Linked DNA regions of Homo sapiens: all the other regions are linked to region 1. The links are contacts of gene promoters, found by promoter capture Hi-C in blood cells and fetal thymus (Javierre and others, 2016). All regions are on one chromosome and are shown on one strand. Each heading gives the region's core, a stretch centred on a gene start or on the middle of the fragment in contact. The rest is flanking DNA. Distances are from core to core; before and after follow the strand shown. Region 1 holds the start of MEIS1-AS3 (MEIS1 antisense RNA 3). Region 2 overlaps LINC01828 (long intergenic non-protein coding RNA 1828). Region 3 has its middle 79 kb from the start of ETAA1. Region 4 has its middle 3.7 kb from the start of ETAA1. Region 5 holds the start of LINC01829 (long intergenic non-protein coding RNA 1829).

Region 1 (2,700 bases), core at 173-2,672:
TAAATTTCTCTCAGTTAAATTATACTTACACAATTTCCCTCGCAGTTCATTTAAGGATCATAAACGTAGGTGTGCCCTGTCGGTGTTTGGTTTGACCCCCACCTCCCACCCACGCATCTCCCTCCTACCCCCGAGTCGCGCAGATGCCTGGCGGGCCTGATGCGGGGACGATGATCACACCCCCGCGAGCAGCCATCGGAAGGCGCTCAGGTATACCCCGAAGTCGGCTGGGGTTCCGGGAAGGGGTCGCAGACTGCCGGCCCAGCTTAGTCCTTTCCCTAATCGGAAAAGGAGCGTGCTGCCTGGCCCAGCCAGCGCAGCCTCCCAAGGATTAAACAGAAATCGCCTTCCTGAGACGGGGAGGTTCCATCTTGGCCTGAAATTCTGCTTCCAAGTTCATGTTGTGGGGCCGGGGAGCGACGGTGAGGCGTGGGGTGGGGGGGTGGGGGGATGGGGGGAGGCCGGGAAGTGTAGGCAGAGGCATAAAGGCGCTGGTAATGCACCTGGCTGCCCACCCACTCCGTCCCCAGCTTTTACTCGCGGGCCTGTCTTAACCTCCCAAGTGATGTTTCAGGGCGTTTGTACCAGAAAACCTACACATGTATGTGATGGAAAAAAACTAAAAGATCCTGAAACTTAAGCGTCAGAAAAAAGACAGGGAGAAACAGAGAGAAAAAGGAGAGAGGAAGCAAATGATAAGGGATCCTGGAGATGGTTTAAACACACACACACACACACACACACACACACACACACACACACACACACACACACGAGGGAGAGCTCTTTCAAGGCAAAGCGCTTCTGAAGGTTTTGGGAGAACGTGTGTCAGCCCTTCAGGCACACAGGGTGCCAGTACGGAGTTGGGGGCGGGGAAGGGTGCAGTGCAGGCGGCTGGGAAGGCTCATCTGCTCGGCTTTATGGAAACGCTCCACTGTTGGGGGCAACCAACCCCGCGTTGACTCCTGCGAAGTGCTAAAGGAAGCGATAGATGTCGCCTAAGGAGACTACGGACGCTCGGTGGAACCTCATTCCAGACCTATGTTCTCATGCTCGCCCTGTGTCTCCTGCTCCTCGGAAGCCCACTCTATAGAATCTTCAGTCCTACCTCGCAGACGGACGCAAATTATCTTTTACTTTGCGCTTAAGAGTTGGCTTCAATACATTTTAGAGCTCCTAACCTTTCCCAAACAATCTTCGGATGAAGGGATACCCCCAATCTTGCTCAAAACTCTTTCCCTACCTACACCCCCTTGAGGGTGAGGGTTCAGTCCGCAGCTGGCGAGTGGGACGTGGGTGGGGGCGATGGAGGCGCGGGCGGGCTGCTTGGAGGGAGTCAGCCTTTTGGCCACCTTCAGGGCGGGAATAGGGACTGGCAGTTCGCATTCCCCGCAGATCGAAGCTCCCTGCTGATCGATTATTTGATAATTGATTTTCCCCGCAGCCAATGCGCGGCGGCCTGGGCGGGGGCGCCTCCTGATTGGCCGAGCACTCCTCCACGGCTGCCTACCGAGATTTGGGTGAGCTCATTTTCCAGTCGACCGCAGGGGGAGTTTTCTGCGAGGTTTCAGCTGGAGGGAGGGGGAAAAATCCTCTCGGAGCCGAGCGAGCTGCGAGCCCTGCTTGTGGATGTGAGGTTTCCAGCCACTGGTAGAGCTGCTGCGGCTGAGCCATCTCGGCAGATCAGAGCCCAGCGGACAGAAATATAAATACGAAAATAACGCCACTAAATATAATCACAAGGGAGAAGCTTAGAGCGGGAGAATAAAGAGAAGGGGTGAGGGGGAATTAAAGCCCAGGCAATAGGTGTTAAAGTTAAAAACAAAACAAAACAAAAAACAGTGGTTGGTTGGAGCCTCCGAGTTGTAGGTACAGGCAGCTTTTGTCTGAAATCTCAGCTTCCGAAGCGGATTTCTTTTTCTCTGGCACTGGGAGGTTTCGCCGAGCCGGGTTGGGGACGGGAAAGAGGAGCGCGGGGAAGGATGTCTGGGGTGGTGAGGGCAGGGCTTCGCTGGAGAAAGAGCTAGTGGGGCGCGAGGTTCTTACAGGCCCGGGAGAGGTCGAGGCTGGAGCCCCTCGGCGCCTCTAAGACAAAGGCAGCGGTGGCTGCAGCCGGAGCCTAGCACTCCGGCAGCGTCGCGCCGCGCCGCGCCGCGCCCTGGGCGCACGGCCGCCTCACCCCGAGCGGGTCGGAGAAAGAGCCTCCCTCCCAGCGGCTCCCCGGCCCCGGCTCCGCCCGCGAGGTCTGGGCTGCTGCGAGCCCGCGCCGGGTTTCGCTTTCCGACGATCATAAATAGCTTGGTGTTTGTAAACAGGCGCTGGGGGCACATTCCCCGCGCTCAGCTCATTGTTCCCTCCCTTCCTCTCTACTTCGCGCAGGACGCCTGGGCTGGGGCTGGGAGCCGCCGGGGCTAGGAGGTGGGGGAGTCCAGACCCGAAGTGACAAAATGCTAGCATTTTCTTTCCCCCGGCCGGGCGTCCACCTCTAACAGCAAAGAAACCTCTAAGCTGGGTCTGCAGAAAGCCCGAGCCACCTCAACCCCATGTTCTCAGGACTCCTTAGCAGAGGCTTTCCCAACCTGGCTTCTCCCTCCTTTTCCTCCACGATCCCGCTTTGACTTTTCTCCTTGCAGTGTTTAGTTCTGAGAATTCAGTACTTTGCGCATCACCCCCTGCCCCGAAAAACACTGGCAGACCCCA
Region 2 (2,700 bases), core at 138-2,637, 800 kb after region 1:
GCCTCAAATAAGTGAATTGGAGATGCATTCTGGATGAGTGGTAATAGGGGTGAAACCAGTTCCTGAGAGTGAGATGATCTAATGCTTCCCTCTACACTGTAAGCCAAGACCACTCCAAAGCTGATGTTTCATGTCTTAGCCCAAAGGATTTAACACTACAGGCCTTTTGTAATCTCTAAGTGGGTACTCTGTACATTTTAACATGGAACAATGTGACCACATTTTTATATTTTCTATATTTTCAGTCTAATTTACTGCTTTATTTGATATATGGTAAAGTTAAGAGTTTTTGTTCATTCTTTCATTATTCTTTACACTGAAAATTGCATAGGGTTGTAATCTTTTAATTCATATCTATTTCTTCTGAAAGCTGACAATTGCTTCAATTATATTCTGTCACCTTTCTGCTATTACCAATACCTTCTTGCCTAGCCTTTTATATTTAACTCAATCAGTCATGATAATAAACAAATTAATTTACTTCTTTTTTAAGTCATTGAAGTGAAGATGGGAGGGTCACTGAATCAGTCAGGTTCCAATCAGGAGACAGAAGCCACATAGCAATGTGAACAAGGAAAGCTTAGTGAAAAAGGATTATTAACTACAAGAGTGGATTGCCATCTTAGGAGTAGGTAATTCTTACCTATTTGGGGTAAGATTACAGAAATAGCACAGAGAGGGAGCAGCCACTACCTCTAGGTTTGAGGCAGAGGACCCAGTGAAGCCCTGCCTCCTTCAAGGTCTCAGTGAGACCCAGTCTCCCTTGGAGAGGACTTGATCATTCATGGCTCACTGAATGGCAGGCCAGTTTCCCATAATAGTGGAACATCTAAAAAGCTGCCCTCTGCGTTGCTGGGGAAAAGCTGCTAATGGGGAGATACTCATGAAATGTGCTGCCTCTGAACCCTGCTGGTGTCCTGTGAATGCTGCCTACCTTATACTACAGAAGTAACCAGAAAACACACAGAAACCAGAAAGAACAGCCCTTTCCTCCTCCAGTGTCCCTCCAGTGCCCTCTACTGCAAAAAGGGAACATTGTGCAAGCTGGCAAGGGAGAAATGTCCCACTATCAAAAGCAGGGCAATGAAGCGTAGATTAGGAAGTGAGAGGCAATAGCCTAATAACTGACATAGTCCACCCCTTTGGTCACTGAGCTTCTATGTGCACCCATCTGCACGCAAATGAACTTCTTTACAACAACCATGCAAGTCTGTTTCCACCTAACAATGTATAGCTATCCTTCATATAAGGGAAGATGTTCTTATCCTTTCCCCAAAATGAAGAGACATAGAATGCCAACAGTCATTATAACCATCATTAGCCATATTAATTACTCCTCAAATTCAGTCATAGTCCCACTAAGTATCCCATTACCCAGAGACTAAGGTATATTGACAACTGGCACAACCATTAAGAAAATGGAGCCCAAAGCTACCTCCTCTAACCTCTATGGCAAACCTCCCCCTACATGGTATCTCCATGACCACAAATCTTCCTCCTCTCAAGCCTTTGTTCCCCTGCCTAGTCTGAAGTAACATGATCCAGTTGATGCCCACCTACCTACTGCTGCTTCTGCCACTTCCCATCTTCATCATTGCTGCATTTTACTAGCTGACACCTCTTAGACAAGGCCTTGATACAGTGCCCTATGCAGTCGCTACCTGCATGCTCATGGTACGGGGTATGAATGACAGTAAAAATTACACAAGTAACAGTTAAACTTAATCATTTCACTCTCCTTCCCCAAATAGGGAAATTGGACAATTTAAGTTTAATTCATGTCTCTCCCACCTCAGCCAGTTAATAAGAATTGAGTATCCCAAAGTCAATGAGGAAAAAAAAATAACTTAAATTTTAAAATATAGTCAATGAGAAGAGGACTAAAGAGAAGCAGACTAGATCATTCGCCCATGGAAAGTGAAGACTTGCCAATACAATGTGCCTTTTTAGTGTTTTCCTTTAATTGTTACAAATCTGTGATTTGTTATATTTGACCCAGTGGAAGTCCTGCAAGTCACACTGACCTATTAATAGAAACCCAGACTCCAAACAACCAAGAAACAGAGCTCAGGCCTGCTTCATTTCTCTACTTGCACCTCAAGAGCAGCAGTGACCTTTGCCTATCATCCGACAACAATGTGGATGGCATCATATTTCTACCAACATCTCTGTTTGGTGTGTGAAGTTATTTCCAAAAAGCTTCATTCATTTAATCCTCCAGCTGTCTAAAAATCTTTATGGGTGACCATTTTTAGCATGCCCTTTACCCTTTGCTCTCTGAACCCATCCAGGTCCTTGCTTAAGGCTCCCAAAGGTCTAAGAGCAGTAGGGGGAGAAAGTGAAAACTGGATACCTAATGATATAGAAGTCAGCTGGTAAAGTCCATAAAATTACTTTGGGGATTAGCTGGTAGAAGAGGTGGTGCTGTGTTTGTACTTCTACTTTCACAACACAAAATAATTAATGAGTAAAAAATACTTTTTGTTTAATAATTGCTGTTCTTCATTAGTGTGAACCAAGGGCACGGTCTATCTAAGACAATAACATCTGCACCCCATATTTCATTATCACCAAACTTCACATTTCACACAAAAGCAATGCTAGCACAGCCTTACAGCTTTAATTAGTTTCTGCCATAGCTGTGAAGGTCAGCCAATTATTGTGTGTGAAATTTCAATATGAAGTGGCTGAATTGAAGAC
Region 3 (2,700 bases), core at 160-2,659, 890 kb after region 1:
AATTATTAGAAACACAAAACCTGAAGTTACATTACCCATTTAACACTAAAATTAAAAGCAGAAAGCTAATTAGGAAAAATAGACTCTGTTACCTTTATTTTCAAGGATTAGAATTCTCTTAAAAGTTACAGCTAAATAAAAAGAAACCATAAAATAGAAACTTTAGATCACAGCACAAAATAAACTTCAAATCAGATAGTAACAGGCTGTAAAAGCGTGGCTTCTAGGGTCATATAACCCAGATTAAAATCACAACCCCACCTCTTACTAGTGATGTGATCTTTGCCCCTCTGAGCCACAGTCTCCTCGTCTAGAAAATAAATACGATAATAGAACCTATCTCATAGGGTTGTCATGAAGATTAAATGTAATACTCCATGTAACGTACTGGGCATACAGCCTGGCAAATAGCAAGCAGTCAACAAATATTAGCTCTTATTTTTATCATCATTACAACCTTTTATTTAAAATGGATATGCTGACGTGAAATGAGGGGTTTGCATTTATACCTACATGTTTCAAAGCTAAAGACTCCTGGACACCAAAAACCCCAAATAGTTTTCTCTAAATAGATATTAAAATGTTCCTGGCAATAGCTGCTTTTAAATAACTCATTTTCCGAGGCTGAAGCACAGAGTTCAAAATCCCAGGCTAAGCCCATTTATACTGCCCTGTTGTAAGATGCTGCACACAAAAGTAATTATTTGGCTTGCAGACCCTTTGTCACCCGAAAGCTCCCATAGCCACACAATTAAGTTTAGGCCACTCGGGGTTTAGCATTCTTTTTCTGAAATGGAGTCCACATGCATTACTCTGTGTGTGTGTGTGTGTGTGTGTGTGTGTGTGTGTATGTGTTTCTGGATGAATGATACAATCTACAGAGGTAGAGGAAACATTACAATGCTTAAGACTGGGTACTTCAACATCCAATTAGAGTTGGGTGAGTTGTGCGGCAGCCCCAAAGGCCAGATGCTAAAGTGACCTGGTGCAGCCCAGCACAGGCCATCACCTATCCCTCCTGCATGGAAAGCAGCCTCTAGGGATTCCACTGAGCCACAAAGCTGAAGACCCAGGCATGCTGCATTTTTTTCCTCCTAAAGAAATTTACATGCTATTTTTCTACCCTGTCCCTGAGCTGGGATATTGAGGTTAAAATGTACCTACTGAGTAGGTAATGCATTTGGTATTAAGGATCCATCATATGCGTATGTCTTCTGAGCGTAATGGTTCCTTTGGAGCTATTATAGGTATGCCGTGAATAGATATTAGAAATAATACACAAAGAGTGACTGAAGGAGATCCCATATTAACTACTGTCAGACTTTAAACATTATTCTAAAATAAGTTTTTAATTCCTAGGGTTTAATACCTCTATACTTTGTAAACTGAGCACTTTTCAAAGAGAGCTCCAAATTCCTACAGAGCTGTCTTTAAGTGAGCTTTGATCTTTGCAGAGCACCTATCTTGTGTTTCTATAATTGCTGTGGTTTAACAAGGCTCCCTAGCATGTGAAGGGGGGCAAATCCTTTTATTAAGGCTATAAACCTAACTGACCATAGTGACGGAATGTGCAGCTTGGTGGTAGCCCTTAGCTCCCCAGGAAAGAAAAAAAAAATTGAAACCAGGGAGTCTTCATGTTAAAACAAAATGAAATATTTATTAAACATGTTTCTGGTGTCCCAGGTGGTAAGAGGCTGCCCCGTGGTCCGCTGAAAGGTTTGATCTTTGTTAAGTATTGTGAATGCTGATTTCAATAATGGGGTGAAAGCTGAGGAAGTTATGGCTGAAATTTTGGCTAAAGATGACAGCTCTAGGTTTCAAGTTGCACAAAGCAGTCTGAGGGATTAAACCAACAAAGCCTGCTCAAAAGTATTGAGTTTCCAAAAGTGTAATCTTCCTATCAGTGATTCACACTCCTAGGATGGGGAGGATTCCTCATTTTTTACTTTGACTTTGCCATATTAATCTTACTTAACAAATACATGTGGTGATTTATATCATGTTTAATTAACTGATTGAGGGCGCCAGTGGTAAAAATGGCATCGCATTAAGCTCTGTCCGTATGGCAAATTCGAATCACATCCTTAGCCTTGCAAGAACAAAATATCCCGAGAGTCACTGATGACAGGATGTAGGAATTGAAATCAGGTCCCTCCTGTTGTTTGAGAATCTAGGGAGGGTGCCTGCCATATGCCCATCACTTCCAGCGGGGGAAATGACAGGATAAAAGAAAGGAAGGCTCTAGTTCTTCCAATATGTTCAAATCTCAGATGAAAATGATTGTGCAGCAGTGCTGTACAGAGGCCAAGATTCACATGAAAGTACATCTCAAACTTTGCAGAGAGCTTAATGAGAGGGTTTTGTGGTGTTTTGATATGTGGGGTTTTCTTTTGTTTTGTTTTCTGAAATGGCTGCTCAGGGTTTTTGAGAACTGAGAGGCGAAAAAGCTGTCGTTTAGAGTTAAATATAATAAGCAGGATTTTTTTAATAAAAGAGGGAATTATTATTTAATAAAATATAAGTGCACTATGATTCCATAGAAATCAAATTAGGTTTGAATACTAAAACCACACGTTGGGATACTGGTTTTAAAATTAACATCTTTGGAAATTGGAGTTGTCTAATTTTTCCCCTCAAAAATCTATGGTGATTATTTATGACATCTAAAGAAAAAGTATAAATTGATTACTGATAATAATT
Region 4 (2,700 bases), core at 88-2,587, 960 kb after region 1:
CATATTTAAATGGGATTTTGTTTCATTCTATTTTGAACTTTTAAAAATAATATTCTTTTAATTGAGAAACAATAAGACTACAACCCTTGACCCAATTCTGGTGTTTGTTCTATGTTTTAGTTCAGGTTTCTTTTTAGATGTAAGAAATAGAGACCAACTGGCATTAGCTAGCCCCTACCTAACAAAGGAAGTTTACTGTAAAGGCTCACATTGAAAGAAAAAAGGACTGGTATCACAGTAAAATCTGGTCTTACGGACATTGAAGCTGAATGGTGGTTGGGTTTCAAGGTATCCAGAGTCAACAGATGTTGATTCCAGTGGTCCCCAGTCTGCATAATTCTGCTACTTCCTTCAGTTCCACTTTGAGCAAGCTTCTTCGTAGTTTCTGCCCACCATGGTTTTGCACAGGGCCCTCTAGCAAATTCTTAGTTCAAATCTCCAAGAAAGAATAGGATTGTCTCAATGCATCTTTTTGTGTCAGTCAGAGGTGGAGAAGCTGGCTATGGACTGGTTCCTAAAATCAGGTGCCCATGTCTAGTCCAGTCATTTTTACCCGATTGGGCCCGTCTGGCCAGACATGGTCACCTAGGCAGCAGAGGCTCCTGATGGAGCAGCTAGGCATAATAGGTGGTTCTAGCTAATACAATTGCAGCTATGTCAGGAATAAGGAAAAATGGGCCCAGCACTTACCCAGGTACATTTTGGGGTGGAAACATTGTAACAAAACTGTTAAAAACAAACAAAAAAACAAAAACCCTCTAATCATTGTGTTGCTTGTTCAGATTCTGCCAAATGCACTCTCACAGATTTGGAGCTGGAGCTCTGTATATAAAACACAAACATAATTCACATAATTATGGATTTTTTTTTCTTGAAAGGAAGACTGCTCACAGTTAGCCATTGATCAGTAGCATTGACCCATCGTTGTAATGTAAGTGAGGAGGCAATCACTGGCAGAGAAGCTCCTTAGTAACTCAGACCTTCAGTGTCACAATTTTTGCCTTAATAATTATTGTCAAGTTTATAAATAATCCCTGTAAGTGAAACAAGCAAGAGTTTCACTTTGGTTTATTACAGTTTTTAGTTGCAGTAAACCTTACTTATATGTATAAATTATTCAAATGCCTAGAAATGCTGAGCTATGAATCATATTGCATTCAAACATCTGTAAGACTTTTGTTTCACATTAAAAACATTTTATTAAGGAGTTAATTGTGTTATACTTATTTCAGGAGCTATAGTCAGGAAGTAAATTTAATTTGAAGTACACTTAGAAATGTAACAGATTATGTAAAGTAAGTAATTTTCAAGTTAAAATTTACTATAATTTCCTACCCCATAATGATTACAGGTTACAGCCATCCTAGGTGTGTTAAGACAACACGTCTGTACTTTAGGCTCAAGTTGTTCATTTCAGCAATGGTTACTTGGGCACTATAGAATTTGGAGTTATGGTAAAGTATTCACTGTTATTTTATTTGCAGCATTAATATGCTTTAAAGGATTACTACATGGTTATTTCTCTTATAAACATCACTAAATTCTTTAAACTTCCTTAATTACTTTCTAAATGTGAGTTGGATATTTATTTGGTAAATTAAGTTCTTTTTACATTTTTTTTAATGCTTCTAGGATTTTTGGTCATTTGAGAGGTAGGAGAGATCTCTGAGAGAAATAGTAATATTCCTGCTAATTTATACAAGTGAAGGTTCAAGTAATTAATTTGAATTTTAAAAGATGTAATATCACTTGTATTCCAGTCTTATCCGGTTATAAATAAATAAAACTAAACAATGGTTTAAATACATGTAGGTAAAAAACAATCATGGAAAGAAAAAGTATTAGTAGAAGGTCAAACACTGAGGAAAAATAATGGAATTATCTATTCACAACGGTTTATATGGTTTATATAACTGCTAGCCCTGAATCTCAAATTTAGTTCTAGGATTTCTGTCAGCAAAATTAAAGAGTAAAAACAGAATAGTTTACAAGATAGAAGAAATATATCAGCTCCTCAGTAGGAACTAAGATCTTTGCCTTACATTAACATTTTAAACATTTTAATTGATAAATATAACATGTGTGTAGAAAATGAACAAAATGTACAGCTCAGTAGATTACCACAAAGCAAATACTTTTGTAATTAACAACTAGAACATGAAAATAAACAAAGCCAATAAATACATGAAATTCTCTCCTCCCTCTGTCCACTTCTAATCACTGTCCCTTCCCCCTCCCGAAGGTAACTATTATCCTGACCTTTATGGTAATCATTCCTAGATTTTTCTTTATCATTTTAACACTAAAGCTTACATCCCTATACAATATAGTAGAACTTTGCCTGATGGAATTTATATGGGATTTATTTAACATTATGGAGGAGGGTTGGGAGGTCTAGCTTTTTTTTGCTCAACTTTATGTTTGTCAGATTTATCCATGTTGTCGCACAGAGTTGTAGTTTTCATTTTCATTGCTATTTTGTTGTGTGAATATAGTTCAATATATTTATCATTCTACTGTTGGAAAGCATTTGGTCCACTTACAGTATGAAGTAATTTTGAATTGAATTTTACTGCTAAAAGCATTTTTCTTCTTCTTTGTTTTTTCTTTTTTTTTTCTGTTGCCCAGGCTGGAATGCAGTGGCACAATCATGACTCACAGCAAGTCAACTTCTGGGCTCAAGTGATTCTCCTTCCTAGT
Region 5 (2,700 bases), core at 50-2,549, 780 kb after region 1:
AGACACACACACCCACATCCACACACCCCACACACATACGCACATACATCCCCCCACACGTACCCACATACTTCCCCCCGACACATACACACCCACACACCCCACATACATACCCACATATACACACCCACATACACCCCCCCAAAACACAAACCCCACACACACATACCCCACACATATACCCACATACAGACACACATACTCATACATGCACTTACTCTCCTCACACACATATTCACCGTAAACACATACATACCCACACACCCATACACACATTTCCCCCACATATACACAACCCCATACACACACACTCCCTACCCACACACACATCCACACACCCACATTCCCCCACACACACCCATACACACACTCCCCACCACCCCACACACACATATTCACCCCCACACACACACTCCCCACCACCCCACACACATATTCACCCACACACGCTTCTAACACACCTACACACACGCTTTCCACACATATACACAGCACACTCACACCCATATCCCTCCACACACACATGCATACCACCCTACACAGAGAACCAGGGCCTAACCTCTCTATCTCTCTTCTATCCCCGCAAGGCTCAGCCTGTGCCCACTGGGAGACAGAGAAAAGAATCTGAAGAAGAGTAAAATCTGCCTCTACCCACCCCACCCCCAATTTTCATTCCAAGCCTTAGGCAGATAAATGTACTTTTCCACCTGTTCATTGGGGTCCCTGTCCAGATAATCCATCGCACAGGCTCCAGCTCTCAGGTGAAGGCCTCAGGTGAGAGGCTCTTTTTAGATTTAAGAATCCAAGCCTGGAGGGGAAACCCTGTTTCTAGAAAGGGAGAGCTGTGTTGCTGACGGGCGGTGGGAAGAGATGGGAACCTATGGGGTTGAATTCCTGCCCAGTCATCGGCGCTTGGCTACCCCCTGCTGGGCGGGAAGCTCTTGGCCTCAGACTCACACATTATGCTCAGGGTCAAGTCTATTCCCAAGGCTTGGGACAGAATCCACTTACTTCCTGTCAAATTGTTATCACACGTTCCCAACGTGAAGCTGGAGTGTGAAGTTACCTTCCAATCCCCAAGAGGTGTTTGTTAAAGAGTTTTTTTCCTCTGAGCCCTTTGTATGCCAGTTTAAGCAGAACAAATCTATTTATTTTTTGTGAGGATCAGTTTATTAAAAGCATGCACATAACTCAAATCGTATAGTAAAATGATGTTAGGCTTTGTTGAGCATGAAAAGTGTGCTCGCTCAAACCCCATTTCCAACCTTCCGTGCGTCATTTTCCCCTGAAGCAGAACATAGGTTATGTTAACAGGACCTCAGCCCAAAGGCCTAAAATCAGCTTAGCTCCCAGGCTTTCTCCAGCCATCTCTTCCCACAACCCACTCTTTCCACCTCTCAGGAAAACCCCAGCTACATGATGTAGAAAACTGGCAAATATAAGCGGACGGGGAACCGATTTTTAACCAGATCAAGTTTTCAAATATAGATTAACACGTTTTAATTGTCCTATAAACTATTATTCTTAAAGTCACTCTTAACAAAACCCAGACTTGGAGGAAGTTCTCTGCCATAACTGTAATGTGTATACACTATTAAGATAGTTATGAAACCTCAGACACATTTGGAAGACGTGGCTTAATAGTGCCTTTAATACAAAATAAAGTAAAATGTAAATAAAAAGGGATTAGTTGTTATAAGCTGTGACACAGCTGCAGCGACAGAAACTGAAGAAACATGTAAACAGAGAGTGCTTTTAGTCACTCAGTGACCCAAATGTCTTTTTCAGACTCTCACAATTCTAATTCTGACACACTCGTTCATTTCATTTATTTTGCAAACCAAGCAGAAATGAAACGGACCTTCAGATTAAGTAAACAGGGGCTTTACATATAGCCACTAAGCTGCCAGATAGACAACTTTTGGTTTACATGGAGTGTAAGGGTAAAGAAACAATGTCAAAACTGCATCCCTTCTTGCATTTATTGGCATGAAGTGAAAATCCAAATATATTCACCAACAAATTAATAAAGGGTGAACAGGCTGCTAACCTTGCATGGTGCGTTAAAGTGTCAGAGCACTTGAACTGCACATCATAGCACAGCCTCAGAAATAAACAAACATTTCTCTCTGTCAGAATGGGGTAAATAAATTAGGATTTGGCTAAATCTCTGGTTGTTTTGCTCCCATGTTGTGGCCTAGAATAAGCCCTACACTATTTCCAGCTGAAGTTGACTCTACTTGATACCTTAAGCAAATGAGAGAAAAGACAAGGGTGACAGTGTAGGAAGGAACTGACTTGAGATTTTCCTTTCTTATTAGTTAACAGAGTTGTCAGTGAGTGAGAATGCAGGATACAAATTAATGCTTTTTCAAAAGCCTTCACTCTAATCCTATTTTTTCCTTAATGATCCCTTTGTCAATTACTGTTGTCTGGGTGTAGCCTTATAATAGTCATGTTCAGATTGTTTACCAAGGTTGGGTGAAATGGCAGGATGAGGGTGGGGGGAGGGAGGAACAAAGAGATAAGCCTATCCCTGATAAGCCTAGGAAGCTCTTAACTGAATTCAAGTAACCCTGCCCCCTCCCTCAATGGGAGAAGCATGCCAGCCTTCCCACCAAGTTCTTCCAGATGATACTCAGTACTTTAATCTCTATGCCTGCTCAGCAAATTGAGTGATTTCTCTTCTCTAACTCTTGC

Evidence for each region. The method cuts DNA at HindIII sites, captures the fragments that hold promoters and counts their contacts. A CHiCAGO score of 5 or more calls a contact.
Region 2: a fragment that was not itself captured here is called in contact with the fragment with the promoter of MEIS1-AS3 in region 1 in 1 of 17 cell types (megakaryocytes); the score reaches 8.1 in megakaryocytes.
Region 3: a fragment that was not itself captured here is called in contact with the fragment with the promoter of MEIS1-AS3 in region 1 in 1 of 17 cell types (endothelial precursors); the score reaches 6.5 in endothelial precursors.
Region 4: a contact is called between a fragment that was not itself captured here and the fragment with the promoter of MEIS1-AS3 in region 1, in 1 of 17 cell types (M1 macrophages). The highest score is 6.6, in M1 macrophages.
Region 5: a fragment that was not itself captured here is called in contact with the fragment with the promoter of MEIS1-AS3 in region 1 in 1 of 17 cell types (megakaryocytes); the score reaches 13.3 in megakaryocytes.

Annotation. Positions count from the first base shown.
Region 1 is chr2:66,432,048-66,434,747 of GRCh38, forward strand. It overlaps MEIS1-AS3 (MEIS1 antisense RNA 3), which reads right to left and starts at 1,423. Exons shown (of 4, transcript NR_046438.2): 1 at 1,244-1,423. RefSeq lists enhancers at 1,252-1,604, 2,474-2,700 and a silencer at 2,130-2,229. The HindIII fragment of the contact is 5,363 bases long and covers 1-1,748 here.
Region 2 is chr2:67,233,635-67,236,334 of GRCh38, forward strand. All of the region lies in intron 1 of LINC01828 (long intergenic non-protein coding RNA 1828), which reads left to right. The region is part of intron 2 of LOC101927661 (a long non-coding RNA gene); the gene reads left to right. Among named protein-coding and RNA genes, the nearest start is that of LINC01829, 20 kb to the left of the region's middle. RefSeq lists an enhancer at 1,807-2,700. The HindIII fragment of the contact is 1,620 bases long and covers 578-2,197 here.
Region 3 is chr2:67,317,228-67,319,927 of GRCh38, forward strand. No RefSeq gene overlaps it. Among named protein-coding and RNA genes, the nearest start is that of ETAA1, 79 kb to the right of the region's middle. The HindIII fragment of the contact is 3,146 bases long and covers 1-2,700 here.
Region 4 is chr2:67,392,271-67,394,970 of GRCh38, forward strand. No RefSeq gene overlaps it. Among named protein-coding and RNA genes, the nearest start is that of ETAA1, 3.7 kb to the right of the region's middle. The HindIII fragment of the contact is 1,937 bases long and covers 370-2,306 here.
Region 5 is chr2:67,214,521-67,217,220 of GRCh38, forward strand. The region is part of intron 1 of LINC01828 (long intergenic non-protein coding RNA 1828); the gene reads left to right. It overlaps LINC01829 (long intergenic non-protein coding RNA 1829), which reads right to left and starts at 799. Exons shown (of 8, transcript NR_038844.1): 1 at 708-799. The region is part of intron 1 of LOC101927661 (a long non-coding RNA gene); the gene reads left to right. The HindIII fragment of the contact is 6,157 bases long and covers 1-2,700 here.